Regions from separate parts of the Homo sapiens genome. Here regions 2, 3 and 4 are each linked to region 1. The links are contacts of gene promoters, found by promoter capture Hi-C in blood cells and fetal thymus (Javierre and others, 2016). All regions are on one chromosome and are shown on one strand. The core of a region is centred on a gene start or on the middle of the fragment in contact, and the rest is flanking DNA. Distances in the headings are between cores, read along the strand shown.

Region 1 (6,470 bases), core at 1,470-3,969:
AAATACTAATATTTTCTTGTACTTTTCTTTGATGAGACAGTCCTTTTCCACGAATGATCATAAAAATAAATAATATTGGCTAACACTTATTGAAAACTTTCTATATGTTAACTCTTAAAAATACAATGAACGATGTATCATTATTATCCCAATTTTACAGATAAGGAAGCAGGCACAGTAACTTGCTCAAGGTTAGAGTGCCAATAAGAACAGAGTGAGGATTCAAAATGAGGCAACAGGGCCAGCTTCAGAAGCCCCTGACCTGTGCCGTTACACAGGGCCCTGCACTTAAGTTTGATACCCTGCTGCCACTGTTTTGAAGTTCTTAATTTTTTAACAAGGAACCCTGCATTTTAATTTGGATTACCACAGATTACGTAGCCAGTCCTGCTAGGTAGTATGACTTCAGACTCTGCTCTTAACCATTACACTGAAGATGCACTAGAGTAGATAAATTCCCTATCTTACTGTTGTACAAGGGTTAAAAATTAAGTCATAAGCAGCACTTAGAACCTACATTTGGAAAATGGGAATCAGACTAGTCAAAATACATTAAACAAAGCATTACAGATTGAAATAAGAATCTATTAACCAGGCAATCAGAAATTAACATCAAAAATTTTTTTATGAGCTATTCTACAAAACAGAGCCATACTGAAGGCCCACTTTAGCTCACTCTGTCCTCAAACCGTAAAATTCTGCTGGTGCCCAACTAAGGTACTGGGCAAAGTGAAGCAAGATATGACTTGAAACCTGGTTCCAAGGGGGTTTAGAACATAATTAAATAAGTAATTTTATATAAATAATCTTTTAGCATCTTCAGGTGCCCAGATATTGCAAAACTAGGAAATTTCTGCGAATAAAATTGCACAGTTGTGTGAAGCGGAATCTCATCATATCATTAGGTTCTTTAAAGTTTTTAGATGAACTTTAAACACTAATCCTCCTTAAGTATTCCTCAGAACCTTTTCTGATTAACTGCTAAATTAGCAGGCGTTTAGAAGACCCGTTTAAGCCTAACCCTAGCCCAATAATGCCTAGTGAATGAATAACGAATAAGACTTACCTGTAGGTCACATTTCAGAAAATCCAGAAGGACAAAAAAAAAAAAAAAAAAAAAAATTCCCAAACTGCCACAATATCGCGGAAAGCATACACCAAATTCATTTTTACTAGTCATCACATCAGTTGAATATTTTTTCACTCAATTGAATATTTTTTAAACAAAACTTCAACTATTTGGCGTCTGAGCCTCTGTATCAGGTTGGAATACGAATGGGGAGAGAGGCTGCTGCTAGAAGCAACCAACGGAGAGCAACAAGTAATAGACACCGGAGATGAAGATTTTAAAAGTCGATCTACAAATTTTAAAAAATACAATCTAAGGCCAAATCTAAACCAGCCTATGTATTTCTCAAGAGCTCCTGGGGAACCTTCTAAGTACAGGTGAATGGGGGAGGGGCGGACTTCGGATTCCTTTATATTCATTTTATAACAATTTCGATAACAAGAATCCATTCTGAATCTATTCCGTTAAAGATTTTTAACACACCTGGCCATATTTATTAAATTGTGTAACTGCATGAATGTTCAAAAGTATTTTCTGATAGTTTGACCTTTACAATCTAGGCGTTATTCCCAGTCTACCGATGAGGAAGCTGGAGCACCTGGAACTCCCAAGACTTGCCCCTTAGGTAACACAGCAAGTAAGTGACTTGGGGCTAGAATCCTCGTTTTCGCATCTTGAGCTCGATTACCATCCTCAACAGACCCCAATCTTTACATCATCATACCATACAGCTAGCGCTCTCTCCCCTATTTAGCAAATCCTGCCTAAATTAATTTCTTAAGATCCATTCTAGGATTCGTTCATGAGGGATTATCCTAACAAAACGAATCCTATAATCGCCCGTTCAATTTTGTATGAAAATTTTAAATTAGTTTGGCTTACATAAACATCAGCTCCCGCAACAGAAATCACAGTACAGTACTCGGTATTTCTAGGGGTAGGAGCCTAGGAAAAAGAGACAAAGAATGTCCCTCTGTACCCTGGGGAAAGCGCCGACCTACTCGGTGCGGAGGTGGTCTTCGGAGCAGCTGCCTCAATGGCTCCGACCACCGTGGGATGCGCCCGGGAATGGGAGAAGAGAAGGGGCCTGGGACGTTCGTGCCCATTCAAAACCGATGGCTGCAGAGAGCGCGACCAACTGTCTCATTTCCCACGCCAAAGTCTGGGGAGCGAAGTTCCGACCCCAGTCCCAGTTCCAGCCCTGCCAGGCCAAGACCAGCGTATGGCCGGACCGCTGGCCATCATCCTTAACCTCTGCTCCAGGCGCGCGTGCGTTCAACTTCCTGGGAACCGCGCTCCACACCATGTGCACCCAGCTGGCGAGGATTAACGCCCAGCTCCTCCACACAACACCCCCGGGGGCCTGGCCGGGGCACCAGACACACCTGTTAGATAAACCTGAGGGCAGGCCCGCCCCAGCCCCCAGGACACACGGTCCTGCTCTCGCGCCCCGGCCCCGGTCCCTCCTCACCCGTAGAGGCCCTGCGGTCGGCGCTCCTAGCCAGGCGCGTCGGACTCTCCCCCACCAGTGTGCACAGCACCGGATCCGGATCCGGCTTCAGCGCCAGCCCCACCTCCTCCTCCACCGCCCGCGCCACAGTTGGGAACCGCGGCCCAGACGTGGCAGCGCCAACGCCTCCACCTCGCCTCTGCCCCCTCACGCAGGGCCGCGCGCAGGCGAGCGGAGGCGGAGGCCAAGGCGCCACCCGCCCAGGCCCGGAGAGCGAGGGGCGGGGCCCGGAGAGCGGGGGCGGGACCAGGAGGGCGAGGGGCGGGGCTCGGAGAGCGGGGGCGGGACCAGGAGGGCGAGGGGCGGGGCCTGAGGCTCGAGTCGCGGCGCCTGGGGCGGTGGCCGCCGGACCAAAGCTGGCCTCTCCCGGCTCCTCCTCCTCGCTCCCCAAGGCCTTTCCCACCGCGTCATTGTCTCGGTTTATCTGCAGATACGTCTACCTAGCAGTCAGCCCAGCAGCGTAAGTGGTGACCAGTGTGGGCCTCTTTGATCCTGAGACCGAAGGCTCGGCCACTGGCCCTCTCCATTTGTTCCTTGTTGCCCTCCCTTCATGATTCAATCCATTAATTAGGACTTTTCCTACCAGCTGGCAGTTCAGAGCTCCGCATCCCCAGGCCTCTGAGTCACAGTTCCTGCCTTCATGAAACTAGGAGTTGGGGCCACTGCATTCTACTCCTTCGGGACTATTGTTTCATTTCTCAGTCCCTCAAACCCTTTATTGGATGAACATGGGGTTAGGACAGCGGTTCTCCACTGCAACAGTTTTGCCTCCCAGGAGACATTTGGCAATGTATGAATCATTTTCAGCCTCTCATCTGGGGTGAGATGTCATTGGAATCTACAGATGGTGGAGGGCACAGGTGAGTAGAGGCCGGGAATACTGCTTCACGCCTTACAGTGCGCAGGACAGCGCCGCACAACAAAGAATTACCTGGCCTGAAATGTCTGGAGTGCTGAGGTTTAGAAACCTTTCGTTAGGAGAAGAAAAGTGACTTTTTTCAGAGCCCCATTTCTGAAGTGTCTTACCTAAGTAGCACTTTGTCCCTATTTTAACAGATGAGGAAACAGAGGTTCAGAGATGTTACATAATTTACAAAAGTCTCATAGCTAGTAGCTCCCCTTCCTTGCCTTGTACCATAATTTTCAATTTATTGAAATCGCAAAGTATTTTATTCTTAAGCAATAGTATTCAAAGAACCCCATAGATCATATACCAGAAATCATATTTTTTGCTCATTTGTGAGATTTAAATTTCAGTTAACTCCTTTACTGATTTATGCTTTCTCAGAACTTCAAACATCAGTGAGTTGATGGCATCCATATCTCTGTTTTTATCTCTGTTTTTACACCCATACATACAAAAGAATATATAGGGCATGAGCAGAATGTGGTGGTATGCATCCGTAGTCCCAGCTACTCCAGAGGCTGAGGCAGGAGGATCACTTGAGCCCACAAGGTTGAATCCAGCCTGGACAATAGAGCAAGACCCTGTCTCTAAAAAAAAAAAAAAAAAAAAAAAGAATATGTAAGGCATAAATAAAATAAACACTCATGGCTGGGCGTAGTGGCTCACACCTGTAATTCCAACATTTTGGGAGGCCTAAGCAAGTGGATCTCTTGAGCCCAGGAGTTTGAGACCAGTCTGTGCAACATGGTAAAAACCTGTCTCTACAAAAAAAAATACTGAAAATTAGGCAGGCATGGTGGCATGTGCCTGTAGTCCCATCTACTCAGGAGGCTGAGGTAGGAGGATAACCTGAGCCCGGGAGGCAGAGGCTGCTGTGAGCCATGATTGCAAGACTGCACTCCAGTCTGGGCCACAGAGCAAGACCCTGTCTCAAAACAAACAAAAATTTAAAAAAATGCTTATGTACACACCACTAATCTTAAGCATATGGCCCTCCCCGTTTTTCTTATCAGACTTCTGGTCAAATGTTTTCAGTGAGTTTATCCTGTACAACAAACTGCTGTATGTTTTATAAATTAGCAAAAAGTGAAACATAAGCAATTCTAAAATCACAGAACACAAGGCTTGTAAGAGGTACCCCCAGAGATCTCATACTTTCCACATATACTCCTCCTTACCCACATTGGGCCATAAGAACCCAATTTCTCCTTAATAGACAAGGTCGATTACTCTGGCCAGTACAGTTAACCCCTTTCTTTGCCTGTAGGTTCACTTGGCAATGAGGAGCCCAAGATAACCAGGAGACAGTCTCAACTTCTGGTTTAATGGAACCATTGGTATGTCCTTTGGTTGATTTTTATTTATTTTTCTAGATTCTTAGAAGAAATGCTGCATTCACCATTATTCTTTTTTTTTTTTTTTTTTTTTTTTTTTTTTTGAGAGGGAGTCTTACTCTGTAGCCCAGGCTGGAGTGCAGTGGTGTGATCTCAGCTCACTGCAACCTCCACCTCCTGGGTTCCAATTAAGCAATTCTCCTGCCTCAGCCTCTTGAGTAGCTGGAATTACAGGTGCGCACTACCACACCCAGCTAATTTTTGTATTTTTAGTAGAGATGGGGTTTCACCATGTTGGCCAGGCTGGTCTTGAACTCCTGACCTTGTGATCCACCCACCTGGGCCTCCCAAAGTGCTAAGATTACAGGTGTGAGCCACCGCGTCTGACCAACAACAATATTCTCATTGGCACAAATAAGGCTATTACGTGGATAAACATAGATGTCAGTGATTGAGTTGAGAAGTGATTCAGGAACGTTGGCCTGAATGAGAAGTTTAAGAATACCTTGGCCGGGTACCATGGTTAACACCTGTAATCCCAGCACTTTGGGAGGCCAAGGCGGGCAGATCACGAGGTCAGGAGTTCAAGACCAGCCTGGCCAACATAGTGAAACTCTGTCTCTCAGAAAAAATACAAAAATTAGCTGGTGTGCTGGCACATGCCTGTAGTCCCAGCTACTCGGGAGGCTGAGACAGGAGAATCACTTGAAACCTGGGAGGCAGAGATTGCAGTGAGCCGAGATTGTGCCATTGCACTCCAGCCTGGGCAACAGCGAGACTCCATCCCCCCCCAAAAAAGAATACCTTAGCCAATTTATTTCATTTATATTTTCCTCTTAATGTTTGCACAGGAATTAGATATAACAATCCATGTCTAATTAAGTATAGAAGAGTTGTTTCACTAGGTATTACAAGTTCCAAGTGATAAGATATTATAATTTTAAATTAGCCACATTGTTTCTTTCTTAGTGGTATATAAATTAATGGCGTGTCATACAATGGATGTGTCTAAGATTGGATGAAATATGGTACAGGCCAGGCACGGTGGCTCACGCCTGTACCATTCCAGCACTTTGGGAGGCTGAGGTGGGTGGATCATGAGGTCAAGAGATCGAGACCATCCTGGCCAACATGGTAAAATCCTGTCTCTACTAAAAATGCAAAAATTAGCTGGGCGTAGTGGCACACGCCTGTAGTCCCAGCTACTCAGGAGGCTGAGGCAGGAGAATTACTGGAACCCAGGAGGTGGAGGTTTAAGTGAGCCGAGATTGCACCACTGCACTCCAGCCTGGCAACAGAGCGAGACTCTGTCTCAAAAAAAAAAAAAAGGTAATATGGTACATACTTAATATGGTCTTAAAGTTATAATTCTCTGTTATGGTTTTAATGTCCCCTCCAAAACTCACATTGAGATTTAATTGCCATGGTACAGTATTAAGAGGGTGAGGCCCTTAAGGGGTGATTAGGTCATGAGAGCTCTTCCCTCACATAATATGGATTAATGCTGTTACCGTGGGAGTGGTTTCCTGATAAAATGGATGAGTTCAGCTCCTCCCTGTCTTTCTTTCTCTTACACTACTCCTTCCATGTGATGCCTTCAGCCATGGGGTGACCCTCAACAGATACTGGTACTATGCTCTTGCACTTCCC
Region 2 (6,696 bases), core at 2,830-5,329, 490 kb after region 1:
TATCAATTTGATTGACCTTTTCAAAGAATCAAATTTTGTCTTTGTTATTTCTATTACATGTATGTTTTCTCTTTCATTAACTTTGCTATTTTATTTTATTATTTCCTTCTTTCTCCTTTGTTTGGGTTTAATTTGTTGTTCTTTTGCTTGATTATAGAGTTCTATTACAGATTTACAACCTTGCTTTTTTCTCATAAATGTGTTTAGAACTATATAATTTTCCCTAAGTACTGCTTTGGCTGCATTCCATGTTTTTATATTTCATGTTTTCATTATCATTCTGATCAAAATATTTTCTAATTTTCCCCTTGATTACTTGTTTAATTTATGGGTTATTTAAAAATATGTTACTTAATTTCTGAACATTGGAGATTTTAGGTTTTTTTTTTGTTATTGAGTTCTGATTTAATTTCACAACATGGATAGTGTATACTATATGATGTATTAATATATGTATATTGACTATATTGACAATATACATCAATCCTTTGGTTATTTTGCGTGATATTTTTTAAAAAACTAATTGGAGATATGTCTTATGAGTAGAAGGCATAAGAATTAGTGATGGATTATTGGGATGAGGGTGAGGCAGATAAGGAGGTCAATACTAGGTCATATTTTGTGTTTTTTACGGTCCTTGACACTTGTGATCATATATTAGAATTACCTATGACTCTTTGAATGAGAATCAGTATTTACAAAACCTACTGGCCATGAAATTCCCCAAGTACTTTGGGAAATGCCTACTAGACCCTTTCTTTTACATGTAGGGAGGGTATCTTATATTTATAATAGTTCATATATTAAATTCCAGTTATGAAAACTTGTATTTAAAGCAATTTGCTTTTTCCTTTAGGGCACAGTTTATATTATTTTTTTGTTTTGTTTTGTTTTTGTTTGCTTGAGATGGAGGTTTGCTCTGTTGCCCAGGCTGGAGTGCAGTGCCATGATTGGGCTCACTGCAATCCCCACCTCCCTGGTTCAAGCGATTCTCCTGCCTCAACCTTCCATGTTGTTGGGATTACAGGTGCCTGCCATCATGCCCAGCTAATTTTTGTATTTTTAGTAGAATCGGGGTTTCACCACGTTGGCCAGGGTGGTCTCAAACTCCTGACCTCAGGTGATCCGCCCACCTTGACCTCCCAAAGTACTGGGATTACAGACGTGAGCCACCGTGCCCAGCTATATCATTTTTTAAACCCCTCACTTATATATAGTATTTGCCCAGTAAATATTCATTGAGTGAATGTTTTTCACTAATATAAAGTCAGAAAAATGTTCGATCTGCCAGTAAGTAGTTTAGTGTTGATAATTTAGGTTTACCTTGTAAAATTGCTTAGGTTTATAGAAAAGGAAACACAAAAGATGGAATATAATTTCTATTCAAGATCACATAATTTATATTTCTTAATATCTTCTATTATGTTTATACATTTCAGTTGTATAAAATAAACAGAAAACTCTTTAGATTTGAATATTACAGATCTTTAAATGGAATTTTTGAAAAATATTTTGGAAAATGCTGTCCTTGCATTTAGGGAGGGTACCCCACATTTAGAATTGTTCAAAAGTTAAATTCTAGTTATGAAATCCTCCATTTAAAGCAATCTTTGTTTTCTTCAGCTCTTCTCTTTACATTTAATATAAATTAGTTTTCTGAAATCTAACATTTTAAGCTAAAATTTCAAGAGTCACCTCTTTTTGCCAAATAATACCTTCTTCCTTACACGTAAGCTTAAGTATCACTATTAATGGAAAAGAAAATGTATGTTTCTAATGCTGCAGTTATGGTGCTTGATTTTGGAGGAAAGTCATTGATTTGGCAAGAAAATTCTACAGCAATAACTGTCTTTCACTAGATAGTGGACAAAACACTGTCTTTGTGTTCAAGATCAAAATGTTACTGCTTTCCTGATGTAAGTTTCCTCTTTCATTTTTAAAGGCATGATCCAATTATTTTGATATGTTGTTAGCAAAGTGGCTTTGGTGTGTCAAGTATAATGCTTAATTGTTTGCATCCTATCAAATGTAATGCCACCATTAAATTTTTCCCTTAAGTCACTCAAGTACTCAAGCAGCTAATAAAAAGCCCAATTCTTAGTCTTATTGTAAAAACAGTCCCAGGCAGTTGAATTGGCAATCAATTGTTTCTGTAAATTCCTTCTTTACCAAATAATTTCTTAAGTTCACATATATCTAGTAGAGAGAAGATACAGGAAGCTCCCTGAATTTTCTGAAAGGCAGGAACCTTAAACTATTCAGGGTGATAAACTACATGGTTCTATGTTATTATATACTATATAATTTATTTTTTTTACTCAATGTATGGTAATGGTCCTGTTGTGGTCTGGCATCTTCTGGGCACTTACTTCAACTTTAGAACCTAATACTATTCCAGGGTTAGATTCCAAAGGTAACATAAGGACAAAAGTAATGAGGGTGGCCGGGTGTACTGGCTCATGCCTGTAATCCCAGCACTTTGGCAGGCCAAGGTTGGTGGATCACCTGAGGTCAGGAGTTTGAGACCAGCCTGGCCAACATGGTGAAACCCTGTCTCTACTAAAAATACAAAAATTAGCCAGGTGTGGCAGCACGTGCCTGTAATCCCAGCTACTCGGGAGGCTGAGGCAGGAGAATCGGCTTGAACCCAGGAGGCGGAGCTTGCAGTGAGCCGAGATTGCACCACTGCACTCCAGCCTGGGTGACAGAGCAAGACTCTGTCTCAAAAAAAAAAAAAAAAAAATTATCAGTATCATCTGAGAGGTTATTCAAAATGCAAATTTTTAGGCTTATTGAATCAGGGTCTATGGTGGTGGATTCTAAGAATCTGGTTTTAACAAGCTGTTAAATCAAGTTTAGCCTAAAGCTGCCTCCTTACATAGTTTAAGTTCAGTTTAAAGGCTTCTCTAGACATCGTGAACTGTAACCTAAATGGAATTGTAAACCCACCGTACCCTACTCTCGTGCCAACCACTGAGTTTTGGCCAATCAAATGTGGCCAACTGCTCAAACCATGTTCAAATAAGGCAAACACCAAGCTGTAACCAGCTTGGTGGTTACAGTTTCTGTAACTTGGTGGGTACAGTTTCTGACTGTTTCTGTACCTCACTTCTATTTTCTGTATTTAACTTTCCTTTTTCTGTCTTCCACTATGTGGCTGCGCTGGAGTCTCTGAGCCTACTCTGGCTCAGGAGACTGCCTGATTCACAATTGGTTCTTTGCTCAAGTAACTCCTTTAAATTTAATTTGGATAAAGGTTTTTTTTTTTGTTTGTTTGTTTGTTTTTTTAACAAAGCTCTTTGGGTGATTTTGATGTATGCTTAAGTTTGAGAATCTTTGCAGCATTCCCCACCCCTTATTCTAGCAAAGGGTTTGATGGTTATGTTTATGGAAAATTGGTTTGTAGGCCCAGATATCCAGATGTTCCTATTGTTTCAGAATCTCAAACTTGAGTGACCATGGAATTATGTAAATAGAGGACTTGTCTTAGTCTGTTTTGTGTTGCTCTAACAAAATACCAGAGACTGGGTAATTTATAAAGAAAAAAAAATTATTTTCTTATAGTTCTGGAGGCTGGGAAGTCCAAGATCAAGGTGCTGGCAGGTTCCATGTCTCGTGAGGGCTGCTCTCTGCTTCCAGGATGGCACATTGATGCTTCATCCTCTGGAGAAAAGGAACATTGTGTCCTCACGTGGTGGAATGTGGAAGGGCAATAAAAGACAAACTCCCTCCAAGCCCTTTTATAGGAGCCTTATGTATTCATTCATAAGGGCGGAGTAACTCAAGGGTTTTTCTTTAAGGGCTTTCTACTTTTGCCATCCATCTATGATGCCTTTGCAATCGAATCTTGCATAATATATAATCTCACACTGTCATTACAACATCATGATTTACTAGAGTGATTAAAACTTTGTGGTATACTGCAGTATTTCTAGTTAAACTGAGGGGTAAACTGCAGATGCTTTTAATGTCAACCATAATTGTAAGACATTTTTTCTAAAATATATCTTTCCCCTGATTTATTTAGTAGATTGTAATAATGCTAGGTACTTCCTTTGATAATTTGAGATATTAACATATTTCAAAATGATCCTTATGGATATCATTGTGTACTAGTATTTATAAAGAATATTTATATTAATGGGCTGAATCTGTACAAATTAGGAAATATTTTAAGGATACAGCAATTTGCTTACCAGTTAAGGACTGGGACTGGTGGAAGTTGTTTGCACAGCTGGGAAAAATCTTTTATCACTGATATTAAAATTGCCAGCTCAAGGGGATATTACAAAACAGGCCAACTTCTAGTTTGTTTTACCATTGTTTTAAACTTCTGTACAAAAAAATACAGCCCTTTGTTGACTATACTCATGGCAGACTAATCCCATGGCCCCATCCTTGGTATACCACTAGAATACAGAGTACTAGAGAGAATAATATAATGAATATCTTTCTACTTATCTTCTGGCTTAGTCAAATCTTAATATTTTATCATAGTGACTTTAGATTTTTATTATAATGAAATAAAACATTACGTTTATAACTGAAACTCCTGTGTAATTTTTTCCTCTGTTCTCTTCCTAGAGGTAGCCACTATGTTAAATTTCATTTTCTGCATTCCTATGCGTATTTTTATCTTTTATCTTGGTGTACATATGCGTGTACTGCAAAACAATATGGCTTCTGCATATCCATAAACAATACAGTATTATTATTATTAATTAGGCTTTTAATTTTCAGGTAATTGTATGTTCACATGCAATTGTAAGAAATAATACAGAGATCGCTTGTACTCTTAGCCCAGTTTCTCCCAGTAGTTCTCCCAGTTTCCAATTGCAAAATTATAGAGCAATGATTACAACCAGGATGTTGACATTAATATGGTGAAGATATAGAACATTTCTATCACTAAAAGGATTCCTCATGTTGCTCTTTTACAGCCACACTTACCTTCCTCTTGCCCCATCCATTCTTTAACCACTGGCAACCACAAATCTGTCCTCCATTTCTAGAATTTTATCATTTCAGGAATGTTACGTAAATGTAATCATATGGTATGTGTACCTTTTGATATTGGCCTTTTTTCACTCAGTGTATTTCTCTGGAGATTCATCCAGGTTGTTTCACATATCAAAAGTTTGTTCCTTTCTAGTGATGGGTAGTATTCCATGGTATGGCTATACCATGATTGTTTTGTTTTCAGTTTGAGACTATGAAGAATAAAGCTATAAACATTTGTGTACAGGTTTTTATGTGAACAGATTTTCAATTTTCTGGGATAAATGCCCAGCAGTTAATGCTGGGTCAAGTGGTAGTTGCATGTTTAGTTGTTTCCCCTTATTTAAAAAAAAGTGGTGAAATACACATAACATTAAATTTACCATCTTAACTATTTTAAAGTGTACAATTCAGTGGTATTAAATACATTTATAACGTTGTGCAACTATCACCACTATCTTTGGAACTCTTATCAGCGTGTAAGGCTGAAATTATATCCATTAAACATTCATCCAATCCATTAAATTGTTTCCAGTAAATCCCCATTACCCCGGTAACCACCCTTCTACTTTCTGCCTCTATGATTTTAACTACTCTAAGAACACTAAATGGAACCATGCAATACTTTTCTTTTTGTGACTTGCTTATTTCCCTTAGCTCAGGTTTCATCCATGTTATAGCATATGTCAGAATTTTCTCCCTTTTTAAGCCGGAATAGTATTTCATTGTATGTACATACCACGTTTTGCTTATCCATTCATTCATCAATGAACACTTGGGTTATTGCCATGTTTTAGCTATTGTGAATAATGCTGCTATCAACATGAGTGCACAAATACATGTTGGAGTTCTGCTTTCAAATCTTTTGGGGATATATATCCAGAAAAGGAACTGCTGAATATATGGTAATTCTTTTTAAATTTCTGAGGAATTGCCATTTGTTTTCCACAGAGGCTCCACTATTTTACATTTCCACCAATAGTGCACCAAAGTGCTGATTATTCCACATCCTTGCCAACACTTGCTATTCTTTTTTTTTAGAGTAGCCATTTTAATGAGTGTGAGGTGGCATCTCACTTTAGTTTTAATTTGCATTTCCCTAAAGATAAGTGGTATTGAGCATCTTATATGCTTATTGGCCATTTGTGTAACTTCTTTGAATAAATGTCTGCTCAAATCCCTCATCCATTTTTGAATTGTTTTTGTTGTTGAGTTTTAGGAGTTCTCTATACACTGGATATTAATCCCTTGTCAGATATAGAATTTGCAAATATTTTCTCCCTTTCCGTGAGTTCCCTTTTTACTCTGACAATGTTTTTGATGCTTAAACATTTTTCAATTTTCATGAAGTTAAATTTATCTATTTTTTCTTCTGTTGCCTGTGCCTTTGGTGCCATATCCGATAAATTATTGTCAAATCTAATGTAAAGCTTTTCCTTATGTCTTCTTCTAAGAACATCATAGTTTTAGGTCTCACATTTAGGTATTTGATTCATTTTGAGTTAAGTTTTCTGTACGGTGTTTGGTAAGGGTTCAACTTCATTATTTTGCATGAGGATATCCAGTTTTCCTACTACCATGTGCTGAAAAGACTGTCCTTTCCCTATAGAATGGCCTTGGCACCTGTGATATTGTGATTTATAACAAGAAATAAATACAGTATTAGGTTTTCATCCTTATTTCCTGGCATACAACTCC
Region 3 (6,173 bases), core at 2,909-5,408, 270 kb after region 1:
AGACGAGAAAGGTTTCTACAGCTGGGGTTGGATATTGGTGCTGGAAAGAATAACATTCCAGGCTGATAGAACCAAATGAACTAAAGCCAAGGTGGGAAATAACTTGGTTTATTTTATTTCATTTATTTATTTATTTTTTGAGACCGAGTCTCGCTCTGTCACCCAGGCTGGAGTGCAGTAGTGCGATCTCAGCTCACTGCAAGCTCCGCCTCCTGGGTTCACGCTATTCTCCTGCCTCAGCCTCCTGAGTAGCTGGAACTACAGGCGCCCGCCACCACGCCCAGCTAATTTTTTTGTATTTTTAGTAGAGATGGGCTTTTACTGTGTTAGTCAGGATAGTCTCGATCTCCTGACCTCGTGATCCGCCCACCTTAGCCTCCCAAAGTGCTGGGATTACAGGTGTGAGCCACCGTGCCCAGCCATAACCTGGTTTATTTTTGAGAATAAAAATAGTCTGATAGGCTGGGTGCGGTGGCCCACGCCTGTAATCCCAGCACTTTGGGAGGCCGTGGCGGGCGGATCACGAGGTCAGGAGTTCGAGACCAGCCTGGCCAACATGGTGAAACCCCGTCTCTACTAAAAATACAAAAATTAGCTGGGCGTGGTGGCGGGCACCTGTAATCCCAGCTACTCGGGAGGCTGAGGCAGGAGAATCACTTGAATCGGAGGGGCGGAGGTTGCAGTGGGCCAAGATCACGCCACTGCACTCCAGCCTGGGTGACAGAGCAAGACTCTGTCTCAAAAAAAAAAAAAAAAAAAAAAAAAAGTAATGATAGTAGAGATGAAATGCAAATTCTACAATGGGATCACTCCAAAGACCATACTCTTACGGCTTTTAAAAATATGTTATAACTTACCATATTGTTTTACAATGTATGGTATATATTTTTTTTAAAAAAACACTTTGTAAGTAATGGAGATAGATTCAATTTAAAAACTCTTAACGTTTTAAAGAAATTTCTGCATCATTCCACATCTTAACCTGTGTGTTAAGTTCTTGTGAGAAAAGAAACACATTTCAAGAAGAGGTAATACAGTATACTAGACATGAGCAAATACTCAACAGGAAATGAGTATTAGGAAACTTATGACATTTCCCATTTAACACTGCAAGCAAGTTATTTGTTATTCAGCTATAGGGTATGTCCTTTCCAATAGTCTAGTCAATGCTGACACCTCTGCCACATTTTCCTAAATCACTGCTTTCAACAGGTCATTCTAATACTTAAAAACCCTGCAAAGCTTCCCAATGCCTATATCAATGTAAGTTCCTTATTTCTAGCTATTCCTGCTCTCTCACTGCCTCCTTGTCCTGACTTCTGTATATTATAGCTAAACTAAGTTTGCTCACACAGCTCCAAGCTAACCTGTGCACCTCTGTCTTGTGCTTTTGTCATATATTGTTCATCCATTGAAATGTCAGCTTTCCATCCCTGGAATCATTACTCATATACTTCCTCTGATTTTTTTCTCACCACTGACCAACTAGGTGGTCATTAAGATTTCTTAATTCTAAATAGTAAATATTTCTCATCTGTCTCTATTTTTCTTTACCACTATTCTAGATTAGCTGATGTTTCTTGAGGTATATGAAGTTACAGCCCTCTATGCCTTTGTTTATGCCATTCCTCTTAAACAGAATAGCATCTCTCCTTTCTTTCACTTGGCAATATCTAATTTACTGAGACCAAGTACAAATATCACTCCTTTGTAAACTTTTGCAGGCAAAATTAGAACCTCCCTCTCCTGTACATATATTGTTCTGTATACTGATAATAGCATCAATAATACTGTGCCATATAACCTGAGGACTGGGGAACTGACTTGTCTATTCTTTTCTTTGTACAACCAGAAATGGCAGTGTCCAACATATAGTATATGTTGAATAAATATTTATTTTGAAAGAACAATAAACTTTCATTTGAATCCTAAAGGCATATTTCACATGACGTTAAAAAAAATACTGAGATCAATGTTGAAGAACACATTGCTCTTTCCTTACCTTAAATTTTAAGGCAGGTGTTTGTGTCATAGATGATGCTTTCAATCCGTGAAGCCGTTCTTCTATTTCCTTCAGCCTAAGAAGGGGTATGAGATTATATACACACACGTATTTATAATTTCATAAATATTAGATGCTTGCTAGCTTACTAAAGTATAAAGACGCAGATGATGGCCCACTATCCCTCACATTAATCCTGGTTGACAGTATTTAATAAATGTCTCTGCCACAGTACAGAAAGTATATAAAAATTTATGAAATAATTAGTAAAGTACCGCTAGTTGTCATGATACCTGCTGTTAACAGCTTTTTTGTAGTAAAATGTGAGTCATATACAAGCACATATACATCTTTTAAAAAATTATACCAAATGGTTAATACCATATATACTGTTCTCTCTTTTCTATACTTAAGAGTTTAGAGATCTTTTCATTTCATTGCCTCCTGACCTACTTCAATTTTTTTTTTGTAACAACTATGACTGTCCAAAATACAGGTGAACCATATAGTCTAACCCTTCTGTTGATGAACATCATTTTCAATTACAATGTTTCATAGCTACTTACATTTAGTAAACTATGGAATTAAGTTATTATTATCATTATTATTTTTTAAAAGCTATAGTTGGCCAGGCGCAGTAGCTTATGTCTGGAATCCCAGCACTTTGGGAGGCTCAGGTGGGTGGATCACTTAAGGTCAGGAGTTCAAGACCAGCCTGGCCAACATGGTGAAATCTCATCTCTACTAAAAATACAAAAATGAGCCGGGCGTGGTAGCAGTTGCCTGTAATCCCAGCTACTGGGGAGACAGGGGCAGGAGAATCACTTGAACCTGGAAGACAAGAGGTTGTAGTGAGCTGAGACCGTGCCACTGCACTCCAGCCTGGGCAACAGAGCAAGACTCCGTCTCCAAAAAAAAAAAAAAAAAAAAAAATTTGTTATTTTCCATGCTTTTTTTTTCTTTTTTTAAAGTTTTACTGGATTTATACATCTAAAATGCTGCTCCGAGTATTGCCAAACATGACATTTTATTTCAAACCTGTCAATTATTTTGACACTATAATATTTGTGTGTCTAGCCTATGGTACTTAATAAGATTCTAAATGAAATCCTTAGTTAACATCTGTAAGACAAAAACAAAACTAGTAAAAATTTTAGTCAATTAGCACATTTGTTTTAATATGCTAGTAAATTATCAAAATGAGTGATTTTTCATTTTTATATTAGAATTAATCATATAAAGAGAACAAAGAAGATAAGGCATGTAACTAGAGATGAAGATAGGAATGCAGCAAAGAATTAAAAGATAGTATCAGGAGGGCCACAAATGATTAAATAATAAAATCTTATAATTATATAACACATATAATTATGTTTATACATATAACATGTAAAAAAATATATTTGCTTAAAAAAAGCACTTAAAAATTATTTTCAGAATAATAAGAAAGGTAGAAACCCACCTCAAAAGGTCAGTAAAACTACAAAGGATTATAAACTGGTAAACATTTTCAATAAGGATTCTATGCAGTGACTAAGCTTGGAATAAGTTTTAAATTTCACTCCTAACAAACTGTGAAGAAACGATGAAAGGAAAACAAGGAGAATAACAAAAGAATTTATTTTATGCTACAGGAAAATGCATGTAATTAGCATGAAAATCAACAGTCTCCAGCTTGATTAGGCATGCTATATAGTAATCTTTGTATCTTGAACAATGCATTATTTCTTTATCATGAAATTCTTAGTTTTCTCGTAAGAGGTCCAGTAATTCCATAAAGACATTTAAAAATTTTTCAAAAGATGAGGATATTTTACCGTCGTTTAGTTATATAGAGTTCATCAAGAAGATGTCGTTCTTCATAGCTCATCCATCGTTCATCAGGCAACTCTTCTTCCTTTTGCAGCAACTGTTCATACAGCCGAACTGGATTCCAGCCAGTCATTATGTCATAAGTAATTACACATCCCAAGGAATGTGATACTATTGAGACTTTACCCCCTTTTTCTTCAAAGTCTGGATTCCGAGAACAGAAAAGGGAATACAATCGATTCAGCTCTTGCTGAAGGCCTTTAACTAGCTGTTTGAAATAAGAAAACATTATCATATTAGACTTGTCACTGACTACTATACACTTATTCTAAACTCAAATACATTAAGGTAGAAAAACATACATTACCGATCAAATATACCTAGGTTATTAAAATTAACTTAGGTCTTTCAAAATCTTGCAGGAATGAAGTAAGGTATACATACTATTATAATCCATATCATCACTAAGAACATAGGCAGATACTACCTACATAGATCCTTCTGTAGTCCTTAAACCAACTGTATAAGCCAGCAGTTCCATAGATTAAAAAAAAAAAAAACCAAAGTTCTATGCAAATACCAATAAGATTTTCAAAGACCCCCGCAAATTTCTTTTTTGTTGTAACTTACCCACATGCAATTCTAAATTTTTGTACCTTGTAGTTTTTAGTCAGTAAGTTTTAGAAAATGAGTATCTGGGCTTATGATAATAGGTATACTAACATATTATAAATTATTGTGCATTTAGATAGAGTAATGTAATAAAAGGCCACTGAATGATTGAAGAAAAAACAAAAGTTGATCTACTGGGTATTTCAAAGTTCCCACTAAGTTGGCAATACAGATATAAAAGTAAAAAGTTGTTTTCTATGTCTGGAAAGCAGGGCTATTTTAAGTTTAGAGGTTAATAATGTGGGGAGTATTTTCGTAATTTTTCTTTGTAAAAGTGCTTTCTTTGAAATTAAGCTTTAACAAATATTACTGAAATATTCCATAAAGTCAGAAGAATAAGGTTCTTTTGTTACTCAAACCCATCCTGGGCCCTGATCTGAGTTTTAAGGCAGTCTTCTTTCTTCCTACACTTTACAAACTACTGATTTAATGGCAATGTACATAAACATCTTCTAAGACATGGGTTTTAAGTAAAACTCTAATTAACATAGTTTCAGGAATATGCAGTGTGAAATACTACATGGCTCTGTCTGAAAGGAGCTATAATATGCTTTGGATTTGGCTTTGATAAGAATATCAACCAATCCTTAAAATTTCATTATTTTCCTGATTTACAATCTACATGAGGTAGGTACAGAGAAGGCTAATGTTTAGATAAAATAATTTCCTTTAAAAGCAACAGTTCTTAATCGTTTTTATTTTTGAAGACCTTGATTTTAAGACTTGTACCATGTAAATCTCAAAGCACTAAAAGATATATACTTTAGTACTCTGACAAAACATACCTAATCTTTTTGTTTTTATAAAATACCAGCTTACTCCCATATTAAAGTTTGTTAAAAAAGGAAATCACACTACCAGTAATTAACCTATTTCATATTCAAAAATTTTAAAACATCTCTCACTACACCAAATACTTCATTAGTTTGGCAATCATATATGGGTAAAAAAACAAGATCAAATTATCTAAGGCAGAGAAAGTCTATTTGATACTAAAATATTTCACTATGGAATGAGGCATAGCATGGACAGTTTCTGAAGACCTTGATGATGTCATCTGTTTTAATAATTATACACTTGAAGAGAAATGGCCTTTGTATTTCCTTATTAGAGCATATCTGGATTTGACAGCATTTTCTTTTTCTATTGCTTATGCATATATATGAGACATCTATGGTCAGACATTATGATTTTGAAAGCCAACTTTTTAAACAGCTTTGTACTACCTCTAAATGCTTCTGTATCTCATCCGCTCATCAGTGAAAGGAGAAATTCATTTCTATGTTGTATCCAACGAGTTTACTCTAATTGGAATTTTTTTTCCTTTTCCTTCTCCTTTCTGATCCAATTATATTCTCCTAATTAGGATCCCTTTGTGACCAAGTGTATTCATTTGGGACATCTCAGCCAAGATTAACAATATATACTGTGATCTTAACTTTATTATCTATTAGGTCTACAATATGATCTAATCAACTCAACGAACCTCTTACACAGTAAGCACTGGATAGCTTTTCAAAAGTTTAAAACAATTTCTAATTTCCATAACCACTGCTCAAGAGTTAAAATTTACGAAGGAAATGAACGTAAGGAGGAAAAACCCGGCAGTTTCAAGAGTTGAGTCCAAATACACAAAATATGGCTGAGGAATAGAGTTAGTCCTTTGTTCTCCCTGCTTCAAGAAATT
Region 4 (7,233 bases), core at 3,753-6,252, 290 kb after region 1:
TGTTTTCAAGTCTCATCCATGTTGCATCATAAATCAGTACTTCATTGCTTTTCATTGTTGAATAGTATTTCATTATATGGATACGCCACTTTTGTTTAGCCGCTCATCAGTTGATGGATGTTTGTGTTGCTTCCATTTTTGGGCTATCATGAATAATGCTTCTATGAACATTCTTTTAACAAGTTTTTGTGGACATACATTTTCAGATCTCTTGGGTATACACATAAGCAATATTACTGGCTCATACACTAACTTTAACTTTTGGAAGAACTGCCAAACTCTTTCCAAAGCAGCTGTACTATTTTCTGATCTCACAAGAAACATGTAAGGGTTGTGATTTTTCTTCATCCTAGCTAATACTTGTTAATTTCCATCTTTTTGATAAGAGTTATCCTAGTGGGTATAAAGTGGTACCTTTAAAGTGGTAGCGTTCAAGGTCACATCTAATAACTAAAGATGCTGAACATCTTTTCCTGGATTTATTGGCCATTTGTATATCCTATTTCGACAAATGTCTACTCAAATCCTTTACCCATTTAAAAAAACTGGGGTCTTCCTTTTTTAAAAACTGTTGAGTTGTAAGAGTACTTTATATATCCTGGATCCTAGACCTTTATCAGATATGTGGTTTGCTAATATTTTCTCCCATTCTGAGGGTTGTCTTCATTTTCTTCACTGTCCTTTGAAGAACAAAAGGACTTTTCTACTTATAATGTCATGTCATTTGCAAACGGAGATAGTTTTATCTCTTCCATACTAATCTAGATGCCTTTTATTTCTTTTCTTGCTTAATTGCTCTGGCTGAAACGTACAGTACAATGCTGAACAGAAGTGGTGAGAGTGGATATCCTTGTCTTGTTCCTGATCTCAAGGAGCAGGTTTCAGTCTTTCACTATTAAAGAATAAGTTTAGCCACAGGCTTTTTGTAGATGCCCTTTACCAGGTTGAGAAAGTTGTCTTCTGTTTCTAATTTCCCGAGTGCTTTTATTATGAAAGTATGTTGAGATTTTGTCAAATGTCTTTTCTGTATCTGAAAATCACATGATGTGTTTTTTTTTCCTTCATTCTACACATGTGGTGGATTACCTTGATTAAAAAAAAAATGTTGACCCAATCTTGTATTCCTGGATAAATCCCACTTAGTCATGGTATATAACCATTTATATATGGTGCTGGATTCAAGTTTGTTGGCATTTCATTGACATTTCTGTGGTCTCTATTCAGTAATATTTGTATAGTTTTCTTTTCCTTATGATGCTTTCATTGGTTTTTGGTATCGGGGTAATACTGGCTTCATAGAATGAGCTGGGAAATCTTCCTTCCTCTTCCATTTTTTAGAGAGTTTGTAGAGAAGTGGTGCTAATTTTTCTCTATTTTTTTTTTAAGACACAGGATCTTACTATGTGGCCCAGGCTGAAGTGCAGTGGCTAGTCACTGGAACCGACATGTACTATAGCCTGGAACTCCTGCTTTACTTGTTACAGGTCTACTCAGATTTTCTATTTCTTCCTCGTTACCAGATCAGTTTTCCTAGTTTGTGTCTGTCTTGGAAAGTGATTACTAAAACAGTTTTGGTAGTTTGCTTCTAGAAATTTGTCCATTTAATCTAGGTTATATACTTTGTAGCATAGAATTGTGCATAGTATTCCCTTACAATCCTTTTTATTTCTGTAAGTTTGCTGGTAGTAATGTCTCCTCCTTTATTTTTCATTTTAGTAATTTGAATCTTTTTCTCGTTTGGTCTAGTTAAAATGTTCTCAACTTTGTGGATCTTTTCAAAGAACCAGAGTAATACATACAGATCTTCCCTATTTTACAACTGCATACTACTCCATTATATAAATAAAAGCTGTAGTTTATCAAGCCATCTCTTACTGATGAATATTTGAGTAGTTTCCTACGTGATGCTGCAATCAAAAGCCTTGTGCATGCCTCTTTTATTTTTTGCTGATTTTTTTTGGGATAGTACCTGGAAGTAGGTTTTCTGGGTCAAAGGATAAATACATATGCAATTTTGATAGATACTGCCACATACTCGTTTTCATTGCATTCCATCAGCTGTACAAGAACATCTATTAACTACAGCCTGGCCAAAAAAAGCATGTTGTCAAATTTTGAACTTTTGCTATTGCTAATCTGATAGTTAAGAAATGACATCTGTTTGGGTGCATTGCTCACGCCTGTAATCCCAGCACTTTGGGAGGCCAAGGCAGGCAGATCACTTGAGGTCAGGAGTCTGAGACCAGCCTGGCCAACATGGTGAAATCCCAACTCTACTAAAAAAACATAAAATTAGCTGGGTGTGGTGGTGTGCACCTGTAGTCCCAGCTATTTGGGAGGCTGAGGCAGAAGAATTGCTTGAACCCAGGAGGTGGAGGCTGCAGTGAACTGAGATCATGCCACTGCACAACAGTCTGGGTGACAGAGCAAAACTCTCTCCAAAAAACAAAAAAAAAGACTTTTCACATGGTTAAGAGCCATTTCCTTTTCTGGGAACTACTTGCTTATATCTTTAGCCCATTTTCCTATAAGGTGGTTGAACATATTTTTATTTTTAGAACGATTTTACATATTAAGAATCCTTCATCTGTAAGTTGAAAATGTTTCTTTCAGTTCAACTTAATTTTTCTTTGCCATATATTTTTTTTCCTAGACAATATATTTATCAATATTTTTCCTTATTTCTCGTGGATCAAGTCATAGAATAATTTTCTCTATTCCTAAGTTCTAGAAGAATTCAAACTCTCCTTTAAAAAAATCCCTAATACTTGTATAATTTCATTTCTTTTCCTTCCCCCTTTTTTTTTTTTTTTTTTTTGGAGATGAGGTCTTGCTATGTTGCCCCAGCTGAAGTGCAGTGGCTATTCATAGGTGTGGTTATAGGGCACTACAGCCTCAAACTCCTGGGCTCAAGCGATTCTCCTGCTTCAGCCTCCCATGTAGCTAGGACTATAGGCATGTGCTACCATGTCCTGGTTTCATTTCTTTCACTTAAATGTGATCCAATTGAAATTTATCCTTGTGTGAGAAATGGATCCAATTAATTTTTTTCTATATGCAAATCTAGTTATCCCAATAGTACTTGTTGAGAAGTCTATCTTCATTTTCAGTATATTTTAAAAGACATTGCATTATAATTATGTTTATTGACTGCATATCCCCAAAGTTCGCATTTTAAGAAGCCTAGATTCTACTTTGCCAAAATAAAGATGTGCTTCCCTTATCATCACTGAAAATAAAATGACAGCCAAAACTTTAGACTTGAAGGCAGGATTTCTTTATTATCCACAAAGTCTAAAAGTTCCTTTTTTACATCAGATAAGTAATCGCATAAACATTTTTAAAGTTTCTTTGTCATCTTTTCAAATGTTCAGTTTTAACAAATATGAGTATATGCAAGGAAGAACATATTTAAAAATTTCTAATATTTTTCTACCCACTCATTCAATTTTGATGGCTGTGTAGTTCTTATGTAAATCATTGTGGCATAGTAATTAGGAAGTGGTACATGTGCTGCTGTTTGAATTTGCACACAAAAGAGTTCATTTAGATTAGTGGTTCTCAACCATAGACAATTTTGTACTTCGAGGGACACTTGGCAATGTTTGGAGATATTTTTGGTTCTAACAACTAAGGGTTTTATTTGCATCAGTGAGGAGAGGCAAGGGATACAGTTATACATCTTACAATGCACAGGCCAGCCATCATAACAAAAAATTATCCAGTCAAAAATGTCAATAGTGATGTAGCTGGGAAACCCTAATTTTGAGTTCTCAACTTGGAAACACTACATCTGCTTAAAATGTTGTTTTGTTATAAAGCAAACTTACACAATCCTTCACTCCACAGGATCGCTATCATAATTCTCAAATGATTAAAAACTGATCAAACAGGTATGTCTACTGAATCATTTGGAGTACTGGAGTGACTGTTAAGAAAAAAAAGAAAAGGATGGAAGAAAAATGAAAAAATAATGAGGGAAGGAGAAGGGAGAGGAGGGGGATGGGGAAAAGAGGAAGAGGGAGACAGGGAGAGGGAAGAGAGAAGTTGGATATGTTCTGGCTATACGCCCAAATTTGCCTTACTAAAAACAGTAAAATCTATTTCTTAAATATCTCATAAGAACTACTGAGACCAATGGGAGATAGAGAAAATGAGAAAAAGGAATGATTAAACAATATTATACTATACCTCAGACAATGACCCATTACTGTGCTGCTATGCATGCACAAAAATCATGATTTCAGTCCTGTTATAAGCTTATTTCAATTTCCATGTTCTCTGAGCAATGAATGTTTACTTCATATTGTAAGAAGAGAAGATAGAGATTAATAGCATTTAAGAATTACTGTACAACTGAGGATCATTAAATAGCTGTAAAACATAAGTCTTCATAATTCCTCTCAATTAGAAAAAAATTGGTAAACTAATTGGTTTTAAGAAAATATATGTGTGACATAAATATAGAAAAAAATAGAAAAAGATATAAATAGAAAATCATGAACAGTGATCTCCAAGATACCTTTTTTTTTTTTTTTTTTTTTAAGAGATGAGGTTGGCCGGGCATGGTGGCTCACGCCTGTGATCCCAGCACATTGGGAAGCTGAGGTGGGTGGATCACCTGAGGTCAGGAGTTCGAGACCAGCCTGACCAATATGGTGAAGCCCTGTCTCTACTAAAAATACAAAAATTAGCCGGGTGTGGTGACGTGTGACTGTAGTTCCAGCTACTAGGAAGGCTGAGATAGGAGAATTTCTTCAACCCAGGAGGCGGAGGCTGCAGTGAGCCAAGATCATGCCACCACACTCCAGCTTGGGCGACAGAGTGAGACTCTATCTCAAAAAAAAAAAAAAAAAGACATGGGGTCTTGCTTCATTGTCCAATGCTGCAGTGCACTGGCAACTCACAGGTAGGATCATAGCACACCACAGTCTTGAACTCTTGGGCTCAAGCAATCCAAAATACATTTTTTAAACAAACAAACAAACAAAAAAACAAGGTCCAGAAGTCTATAGCATGCACCTTTTGTGTGGAAAAAAATTTGTGTATGCCTAAAGAAAATCTAGAAGACTCTAAATGGGGACACAAGGACAAAGGATAATGAGGGAAGACGGGGAGAGAAATGAGAATCAGCCTTTTTACTCCATATTTTAATATTTTGTTTTGTGAACTACATGTATGTCCTGTTCAAAAAAATAAGTTTCGTTGATATTCTTGTCACTATTGTTTATTCTCCCATTTTTTTTCTGTACTTACGGGTTTATGCCTTTTTGCTTTTTAAAATTCTTTTTTATATCATGTTCAAAAAGGTTTCAGGAGGGAATAAGATAAGCTCATGTGTTCAACATACTGTGTTTAACTGAAAACCTCTTTATAGTCTTCTAAGATTATAGCTTTAAAATGACTAATTTAGGGTATTAGATATGCCAAGTTCTATGAAGAGTTCCCTTGTAATTAAACTCCACAAAAAGTAAATTCAATTGTATTTAAAATGCCTTCCATTTATCCCTTTTAGTAAACTAATTCTGACATTCCCAGAAGTTGTCTAAAAATTTGCTTCTCAGTCTATGTAAGCGGTAAACATATTTTTCTGGAACAAAGGTGATTGAAGCTAGTCTGAACTAATCATTAGCAAGTTTGCTAAAATAAGGTTAAGAGGGAAAACTCTCTATTCCCAGGAATCTAAGACATGATTTAAAGAAATCCTCAGAGAACAAAAGGCTGTCAAATCAATCACAAGTACACACAAGCTTCAGGATGGCACTGATAAGGATGAAGTTTTGTATAGGCCCGAACACTGAACTTAGGAATGACAGCAAGCAGGGAAATGGTAAGAAATCCTATGGATTTTCCCATCTTTCTCTCTTTTATTATGCAGAATTCCTTTTTATATGAATATTTTCCATTGATTACTAAGTTATGTGTAGAATTTTCCATCAAATTAACCTGTCTACGAAGAAATGATAGCAATGCTCCTTGTAGTGGACACTTGGGTTTTTTTTTGAGCCACCTTGGATTCATTCATCCTGCTTCCAATAATAGCTCTTGATTTTTATCTGTGAATCTAGCTCTTCCTATAGTTAAGATGAAGTCAACTTCCATCTGATTCTAGGTTGGGAATATGACAAGTTTAGCCAATCATACCCTGCTTGGCTACATACATAGATTCAGGAAGTTGGATCAACATCATTAGTCACTAGCTAATGCACAGACTAGCTGGGACTTTTGGAAAAAAGGACTTATTCTTCTTGAATTTGAACACAAGATTATATAAATCACATTTGGAATCAAAGGAGATGTGTGATAATGGCTCCAAAATGAAGGCTATAGAGCAGATAAAACTGGATTTTGATGACTTGCTTGGCAATATGACTCCTAGACTCCTCAGTTTTATGATTTACTAAATCCTGCTTTTGGCTTAAGCCTTTTTGGGTTAGGATTTCCCTCACCTGTACTCAAAGGAATCAAACTGATACCTTCTTATTTATCAATGGCTCCAGAGAGAATATACAAGTAAACCTAGTTCTCAGGTTCCTAGATATTCAAGCAAAATATCTGCATACTAACATATAAATATAAACATCACGGGAAGTAATACATAATTCATCAGAGAGTAAAATCAGGATCAGAGTGAAGAGATTTCTGTAATATAAGCTATGGACATTGAAAAGGATCAAGGTTGGCCTGGCACTATGTGACAAGGTTTTTTCTTTAAAAAGTTGAATTGTGAGGTCTTTTCCAAGATGGTCAAATAGGAACAGCTCTGGTCTGCAGCTCCCAGCTTGATCGATGCAGAAGACAGGTGATTTCTGCATCTCCAACTGAGGTACCTGGTTCATCTCACTGGGACTGGTTGGACAGTGGGTGCAGCCCATGGAGGGCAAGCCGAAGCAGGGTGGGGCATTGCCTCACCCAGGAGGCGCAAGGGGTCTGGGGATTTCCCTTTCCTAGCCAAGGGAAGCCGTGACAGACTGTAATGGGAAAATCGAGACACTGCCACTTAAATACTGTGCTTTTCCAATGGTCTGAGCAAATGTCACACCAGATTATATCCCGCGCCTGGCTCAGCGGGTCCCACACCCACAGAGCCTTGCTCATTGCTAGTGCAGCAGTATGAGATCAAACTGCTAGGCGGCAGCCTGGCTGGGGAAGGGGCATCTGCCATTGCTGAGGCTTGAGTAGGTAAATAAAGTGGCTGGGAAGCTCAAACTGGGTGGAGCCCACTGCAGCTCA

What was found. Contacts are between HindIII fragments. The CHiCAGO score rates a contact against its expected background, and 5 or more counts as called.
Region 2: a contact is called between a fragment that was not itself captured here and the fragment with the promoter of GNPNAT1 in region 1, in 1 of 17 cell types (M2 macrophages). The highest score is 5.1, in M2 macrophages.
Region 3: a fragment that was not itself captured here is called in contact with the fragment with the promoter of GNPNAT1 in region 1 in 2 of 17 cell types (erythroblasts and M2 macrophages); the score reaches 5.8 in erythroblasts.
Region 4: a contact is called between a fragment that was not itself captured here and the fragment with the promoter of GNPNAT1 in region 1, in 1 of 17 cell types (M1 macrophages). The highest score is 5.4, in M1 macrophages.

The regions. Positions count from the first base shown.
Region 1 is chr14:52,788,888-52,795,357 of GRCh38, forward strand. It overlaps GNPNAT1 (glucosamine-phosphate N-acetyltransferase 1), which reads right to left and starts at 2,720. Exons shown (of 6, transcript NM_198066.4): 1 at 2,541-2,720. LOC105370500 (a long non-coding RNA gene) reads left to right here and starts at 2,901. Exons shown (of 3, transcript XR_943867.3): 1 at 2,901-3,439. RefSeq lists enhancers at 1,947-2,036, 2,117-2,206, 2,314-2,827, 2,828-3,342 and silencers at 2,517-2,596, 2,697-2,916. The HindIII fragment of the contact is 20,059 bases long and covers 1-6,470 here.
Region 2 is chr14:53,282,258-53,288,953 of GRCh38, forward strand. No RefSeq gene overlaps it. Among named protein-coding and RNA genes, the nearest start is that of DDHD1-DT, 130 kb to the left of the region's middle. The HindIII fragment of the contact is 4,694 bases long and covers 1,733-6,426 here.
Region 3 is chr14:53,059,124-53,065,296 of GRCh38, forward strand. DDHD1 (DDHD domain containing 1) reads right to left here. Exons shown (of 13, transcript NM_001160148.2): 7 at 3,820-4,082; 8 at 2,003-2,078. Among named protein-coding and RNA genes, the nearest start is that of DDHD1, 91 kb to the right of the region's middle. The HindIII fragment of the contact is 1,240 bases long and covers 3,539-4,778 here.
Region 4 is chr14:53,077,920-53,085,152 of GRCh38, forward strand. All of the region lies in intron 4 of DDHD1 (DDHD domain containing 1), which reads right to left. Among named protein-coding and RNA genes, the nearest start is that of DDHD1, 72 kb to the right of the region's middle. The HindIII fragment of the contact is 1,491 bases long and covers 4,258-5,748 here.